Regions from separate parts of the Homo sapiens genome. Here region 2 is linked to region 1. Evidence: promoter capture Hi-C in 16 types of primary human blood cells and fetal thymus (Javierre and others, 2016). All regions are on one chromosome and are shown on one strand. The core of a region is centred on a gene start or on the middle of the fragment in contact, and the rest is flanking DNA. Distances in the headings are between cores, read along the strand shown. Region 1 holds the start of CCDC138 (coiled-coil domain containing 138). Region 2 overlaps GCC2 (GRIP and coiled-coil domain containing 2).

Evidence for each region. Contacts are between HindIII fragments. The CHiCAGO score rates a contact against its expected background, and 5 or more counts as called.
Region 2: a contact is called between a fragment that was not itself captured here and the fragment with the promoter of CCDC138 in region 1, in 1 of 17 cell types (naive CD8 T cells). The highest score is 5.7, in naive CD8 T cells.

What each region holds. Positions count from the first base shown.
Region 1 is chr2:108,785,162-108,788,724 of GRCh38, forward strand. It overlaps CCDC138 (coiled-coil domain containing 138), which reads left to right and starts at 1,610. Exons shown (of 15, transcript NM_144978.3): 1 at 1,610-1,754; 2 at 2,871-2,928. The coding sequence starts at 1,662. It overlaps RANBP2 (RAN binding protein 2), which reads left to right. Exons shown (of 29, transcript NM_006267.5): 29 at 1-648. RefSeq lists a silencer at 1,419-2,008. The HindIII fragment of the contact is 5,748 bases long and covers 954-3,563 here.
Region 2 is chr2:108,458,287-108,461,805 of GRCh38, forward strand. The region is part of intron 4 of GCC2 (GRIP and coiled-coil domain containing 2); the gene reads left to right. Among named protein-coding and RNA genes, the nearest start is that of GCC2, 11 kb to the left of the region's middle. RefSeq lists an enhancer at 2,688-2,757. The HindIII fragment of the contact is 2,349 bases long and covers 579-2,927 here.

The sequences.
Region 1 (3,563 bases), core at 360-2,859:
GAAATTGGGTATCCTAAAGCAAGTAACTGTTCAACCACCAGTCAAAAGAGGGGAGGGATGTTGTGCGAGTAATGAGTGATGGTATACCATCACCATTCCACTCGGCCACAAAGCCAGATACTTGAAATAAACCTACTCCAAATGTATCAGTTCAGTCTTGAACCATGGATTACATATGTTTACACTAAATATTTCAAATTGGCTTATTTGGAAATCTATGTAATATAAACTGATGTAAAGTGTGTTGTAACTTTTCAGCTGAGACAGTTGATGCCTTCGTCATGATTTTAGAATAAATTCTTAAGTTAATGCAAGTGCTTTTTAAGAGACTTTTTACAGATTTGTATGCTTTCCTAAAGCACTAAAGTTACAAATTAAAAAGCTTTAAAAACTTTGACCAAAAATTTGACAAAATGACATGTAAACTGACTTTTCCCGTATTAGTATTCCAAAGATGCTTAAAAGTGGCTTGTGGCATTTATGAGAAAGTCTTTGTGTCACATTTCAGGAAAGGACTTTGATTTCTCTTTGTTATTTAATCACTGATGTGGTCTAAACCCACGATAATATGTATCTTTCCTTTTAAACTGGATTTTATGTTGTCTCATTAAAATCTGCTTAAAGATAGAATAAAATTCATTATTTGTACATCTTAAGTGGTACTTTATGGCAAAAAGTATGGCCTAAGTAATTTTCAGATAATAACTGCTGAAGTACAGATTTTATAAAACTTGGGCATTTGGGAACTTTAATCCAGAGAATTTAGGAGTTGTTAGTCCAGAGATGCAGCTGACAGTCACAATTTAGAAAGTAAAAGATTACACCACTGTAATTTTATGAATGAGAAAAATGAAGTGGTTGTACAGTTCCCCTCAGTCAGTTTTGTTTAACATAGGTTTTCAGGTTGATGTATACTATGTACTATGGTTAGCACTGTTGTAGGTATTGGCAAAAGCTTTTTTCTTTTCAAAAAAAAAAAGTTTTTTTTCCAGGGTGCTTACATTCTAACTATTCTTTTTAATACCCTGTTATACCCCATATGGAACACAGGGAAAGTGAGGTAATCTGCAATGTCTATGCTCAGCTTTCCCTTTTTTTTTTTTTTTTTAACTTTAAGAGATGGGAGTCTTGCTATGTTACCCAAGATAGATGTAACTCTCAGGCTCAAAGCAATGCTCCCGCCTCAGCCTCCTTAGCAGCCGGGACTACACGCGCGCCACCACTCCCGGCTCAGATATACTCTTGGTTTTTCTTTTATATGGCAGTTAGCAAAGGTCACTTCTGATGGAACGACCGGTCTATGTGGTGAGCGCAACGCACACCAAACTTAACAGGTTAAATGGAGCTGGAGCGGAGCGCTGCAGGCAGGTGCGGGGCCTCGGTGCCCCTCAACCCGTGGCACCCAGGCAGCCGGGGCAGGACTATCGCGGGGAGATGCAATACTACTCAGTTACGAGGTGTGTAGTGCTAGCACGAGAAACTTGGAGGACGCGCTGACAAGCCGGGCTGCAGTCTCCGGGTCGCCCCGCCCCGCCCTTTCCCTGCCGCCGTGCGTGCCTCGGGGGGGCGGGGTCTGGCACGTCGTGACGCACTGCGGCCGCGTAGCGCCGCGGGTTTGATGAACGCGGTTCCCGGGGAGACTGGTACGGTTGCTGTGTGCTATGGAGCCGAGGGTCGTCAAGCCACCGGGGCAGGATTTAGTAGTGGAGAGTCTCAAAAGCCGCTACGGACTCGGGGGCAGCTGCCCCGACGAGGTGAAGCCGCCGCCTGAGGTCCGCGGGTGGGCTCCTGCTGCTGGGGGGCGGCCCGCTCCGTGCCCCGCGCAGCCGGCCTGGGGGCGCGCAGCGGCTCTGGTCCCGGCCCCGGCACTCCCGCCGTGGCTGCGGCTTGGGCCTCGTGGAAGCAGGCGGGAGGGGCGGGCGTTGCGCTGCGGGGGTGCGGGGGTGCCGCTTCACCTATGCCTCTGTGTTCCTGGTATACTGGGCATGGTGTGGTGTTGGAGAAAGTGCTATTCAGCTTTTTTTTGCAGTGATGTGAGTGGAGTTGTGAAAACAATTGAATTGCTTTTTAAAAGCGGCTTATTTCGAAATAATTTCGGACTTACTCAAAAGTTGCTGCAGTATTACCAAGAATTCCCTTGTACCCTCACTTGCATTCACAAATTAATATTTTGCCACATTGGCTTTACCATTCGTTCTCTCCCCTTCCCTCCCTACAAACGCATTTTTTCCCTTTGAACTATTTGAGGGTGATTTGCAGGCATCATGCCCCTTTACCTCTGAATAGAAATAACTTGTGCATTTTTCCTAAGCATAAGGACGTTGTCTTTTAATAACCACAGTAATATTTTCAGGAAATTTAGAATTGGTATAATATTTGGTAATCTAGAGTTCATAAGAAATTTCAGCAATTATCTCGATAAAACCTTTTATAGGAAAATTTTTTCCTAGTGCAGATCCGACCCAAGAACGAGCATTGATTGTATTTGATTGTCCTTTTTGTTGCCTTTAATCTGGAACAGGTTCACAGCCTTTGTTTTCTGTAAGGTTGTTTTTTTTTTGAGAAGTGTAAGAATTATTTATTGGATTGTTTCTCCGTTTGGGTTTATCTTATAGATGCTTCTTCGTTAGATTGATTATGCATTTTTGGCAGGAGCATGAGATGAGTGATGTGTGGCCTGCTGTGGGGAGGAACATGACGTTGGTTTGTCACATTATTGATGATATTAGTTTTGATCACTTGGTTAAGATGGTGTCTACAAGATTTCTCCACTCTAACCTTTGTAATTAATACATAATTTGTGGGGAAATATTTTGAGACAGTAAATTGATTTTTAGTATACAAATTAAATCTTTTCTTTTTTTTTTTAGTATGATTTTTCAAATTTTTATCAGTCTAAGTATAAGAGAAGAACTCTAACCTCCCCAGGTAAGCCGGTATTTTGTATATTTGGGGGTTTCAAAAATTTAATTTGAGGCTGGGCGCGGTGGCTCACGCCTGTAATCCCAGCACTTTGGGAGGCCGAGGCAGGCGAATCACCTGAGGTCAGGAGTTCGAGACCACTCAGGCCAACATAGTGAAATCCCGTCTCTACTAAAGATACAAAAAATTAGCCGAGCATGGTGGCGGGCGCCTGTAATCCCAACTGCTGGGAAGGCTGAGGCAGGAGAATCGGTTGAACCCGGGAGGCAGAGGTTGCAGTGAGCCGAGATGGCGCCACTACACTCCAGCCTGGGCAACAAGAGCGAAACTCAGTCTCAAAAAAGAAAAAAATAGGCTGCGCGCGGTGGCTCACGCCTGTAATCCCAGCACTTTGGGAGGCGAGGCGGGCGGATCACGAGGTCAGGAGATGGAGACCATCCTAGCTAACACGGTGAAACCCCGTCTCTACTAAAAAAAATACAAAAAATTAGCCGGGTGTGGTGGCGGGCTCCTGTAGTCCCGGCTACTCAGGAGGCTGAGGCAGGAGAATGGGGTGAACCCGGGAGACGGAGCTTGCAGTGAGCCGAGATTGCGCCACTGCACTCCAGCCTGGGTGACAGAGCGAGACTCCGTCTCAAAGA
Region 2 (3,519 bases), core at 503-3,002, 330 kb before region 1:
TTTTCAATGTGCTGTTAGATTTGGTTTGCCAGTATTTTGCTGAGGATTTTTGCATTGGTGTTCATCAGGGATATTGGTTGTTGCTTTCTTTTTTTTTTTTTTTTTTTTGCTGTGTCCTTGTCTGGTTTTGGTATCAGGGTAGCACCAGCTTTCTAGAATGAGTTAGGGAAAATTGCCACCTCTTCAGTATTTTGGAGTAGTTTCAGGAGGATTGGTATTAGGTCTTTATACATTTGGTAGAATTCAGTGTGCATCCATCTGGTTCTGGGCTTTTCTTTGTGGGGAGACTTTTTATTACTGATTCGTTCTTGCTACTCATTATTAATTTGTTCAGGTTTTCTATTTTTTCCTGGATTTTTCTTTGATAGGTTGTATGTTTCCAGAAATTTATCCATTTCCTCTAGGTTTTCCAGTTTGTGGGTGCATAGCTGTTCATAATATTCTCTGATGGTCTATTTATTTCTATGAGAATGGTTGTAATGTCTCCTTTTTCATTTCTGATTTTATTTAGGTCTTCTTTTTTGTTGTTGTTAGCCTAACTAGTAGTTTATCAATTTTGTTTATCTTTTTGAAGAACAAGCTTTTCATTTTGTTGATCCTCTGCCTTTTTTAAAAGTCTCTATTTCATTTAGTTCTGCTTTGATCTTTATTAGTCGTTTCCTTCTGCTAATTTTGGGTTTGGCTTTGGCTTGTTCTTTCTGGTTCATTGAGGTAAATCATTAGATTGTTTGAAATCTTTTTACTTTTTGGATGTAGGCGTTTATTGCCATAAACTTAGTATTCATGTCCTGCTTTTGTTGTATCACACAGGTTTTGTGATACAAAAAATCACATAGGTTTTGTGATACAAAAGCACTGCTTTTGTTGTATCACATAGGTTTTGGTATGTTGTAGTTTCCATTTTCATTTGTTCCAAGAAATTTTTTGATTTTCATTTTAATTTCCTTATTGACCCATGGTCATTTGAGACCATGTTATTTAATTTTCATGTATTTCTGTCACTTCCAAAGTTCCCCTTGATACTGATTTCTAATATTCCATTGTAGTTCGAGAACATACTTGATATGATTTTGATTTTTAAAAATTTGTTGAAAATGATTTTGTGGCCTAACATATGGTCTTTTCTGAAGAATGAATGTTTCATGTGCTGTTGAGAAAAATATGTATTCTGCAGCTGTTGGATAAAATGTTCTACAAACATCTGTTAGGTCCATTTGGTCTAAAGTCTGGTTTAAATGCAATGTTTCTTTGTTAATTTTCTGTCTAGATGATCTGTCTAATGCTGAGAGTGGGGTGAGTTTGCCCAGTACGATTGCACTGGAGTCTCTCTCTCTCTAGATCTAGTAATAACTTGCTTTAGGAATCTGGGTGCTCCAGTGTCAGGTTCATATATGTTTAGAATTGTTACATCTTTTTGCTGGTTTGATTCCTTTGCCATTAGATAATGACCTTCTTTGTCTTTTTTTTTTTTTTTTTTTTTTTTTTTTTTTTTACTATTTTTGACTTAAAGTCTGTTTTATCTAAGTATAGCTACTCAGGAGCCTGAGGCAGAAGAATCGCTTGAACCTGGAATGCAGAGGTTGTAGTGAGCGGAGATCACGCCGCTGCCAGGCTGGAGTGCAGTGGCGCAATCTTGGCTCACTGCAGTCTCCGCCTCCTGGGTTCAAGTGATCCTGCCTCAGCCTCCCAAGTAGCTGGGATTATAGCCATCTGCTACCATGCCCAGCTAATTTTTTGCATTTTTGGTAGAGACAGGGTTTCACCATGTTGGCCAGGCTGGTCTTGAGCTCCTGACCTCAGGTGATCCACCCATCTCAGCTTTCCAAAGTGCTGGGATTACAAGCATGAGCCACCGTGCCTGGCCACTAAATAGATTTTCTAATCCTTTTGTTCTCTCTGCTCATTTGGTTTCTATTTGCATGGAATATCTTTTTCCATGCTTTAACTTTCAGTCTGTATGTCTCTTTACAGGGAAAGTGCATTTTTTGTGGGCAGCACGTAGTCGGATTATGTTTTTTATCCTTTTAGCCAGCCTGTATCTTTTAAGAGGAGAGCTTAACTCCATTTACATGCAGTTATTAATTATATGTGAGCCTTTTTTCTGTCATATTAACGGTTTTCTGGTTGCTTTATATATTCTTTGTTCCTTTCTCTTATTGTTTGTTATAGTGGTTTGCTGTCTTTTTATGGTAGTACCATTTGAGTCCTTTCTCTTCCTTATTTGTGTGTTGCTTTACCACTGAGTTTTCTATTTGTGTGTGTTTTTATGATCATAAATGTCATCCTTTCACTTTCAGGTTTAGGACTTCTTGAACATTTCTTGTAGGTCTGGTCTAGTAGTAATGAATTCCCTCAGCTTTTGCTCGTCTGGAGAAGACTTTATTTCTCCTTCATTTATGAAGGATAATTTTGCTGATTATAGTATCTTTGTGATATGGTTTGGATTTGTGTCCCTGCCCAAATTTCATGTCAAATTGTAATCTTCAGTGTTGGAGGTGAGGCCTAGTGGGAAGTGACTGGATCATGGGGATGAACATGAACTTCCTCCTTGCTTTTCTCATGATAGTGAGTGACTTCTCATGAGATGTGGTTGTTTAAAAGTGTGTAGCATTTTCGCCTTCACTCTCTTCCTCCTGCTCCGACCCTGTAAGATGTGCCTCCTTCTCCTTCCTCTTTGCCTTCTGCCATGATTGTAAGTTTCCTGAGGCCTCCCCAGCCATGCTTCCTATGCAGCTTGAAGAACCATGAGCCAATTTAATCTCTTTTCTTTATAAATTACCCAGGCTCAGATAGTTCTTTACAGCAGTGCAAGATCAGACTAATACACTTTGGCTGGGAGTTTTTCCTTCAGCATTTTGAATATATCATTCTCTTATCTCCAATGAATATATTATTCTCTTTTCTCTTCTCTTTTCTCTGGGTCTGTAAGCTTCCTACTGAGAAACCTGCTGTAAGTCTGATGGGGGTTCCTTTATAGGTGACTAGATGCTTTTCTCTTTGCTGAATTTTTTTTTTTCCTCTTTGCTGTTTTTAGAATTCTCTTTGTCTTTGATTTATGGCAGTGGACTATAAATATGCCATGGAGAATACCTTTTTGCATTGTATTTGTTTGGGGATACCTGGGCCTCCTATATCTGGATATCTACCTCTCTTGCTAGACTTGGTGAGTTTTCATGTATTATTTCACTATTTCACTAAATAGGTTTTCTGGTATTTTTTGGTTTTGTTTTGTTTTCGAGGCATAGTTTCACTCTTGTGGCCCAGGCTGGAGTGCAGTGGCGCAATCTTGGCTCACTGCACCCTCCACCTCCCGGGTTCAAGTGATCCTGCCTCAGCCTCCCAAGTAGCTGGGATTACAGCCATCTGCCACCATGCCCAGCTAATTTTTTGTATTTTTAGTAGAGACGGGGTTTCACCATGTTGGCCAGGCTGGTCTTGAGCTCAGGACCTCAGGTGATCCACCTGCCTCAGCTTCCCAAAGTTCTGGGATTGCAAGCATGAGCCACTGTGCCTGGCCAC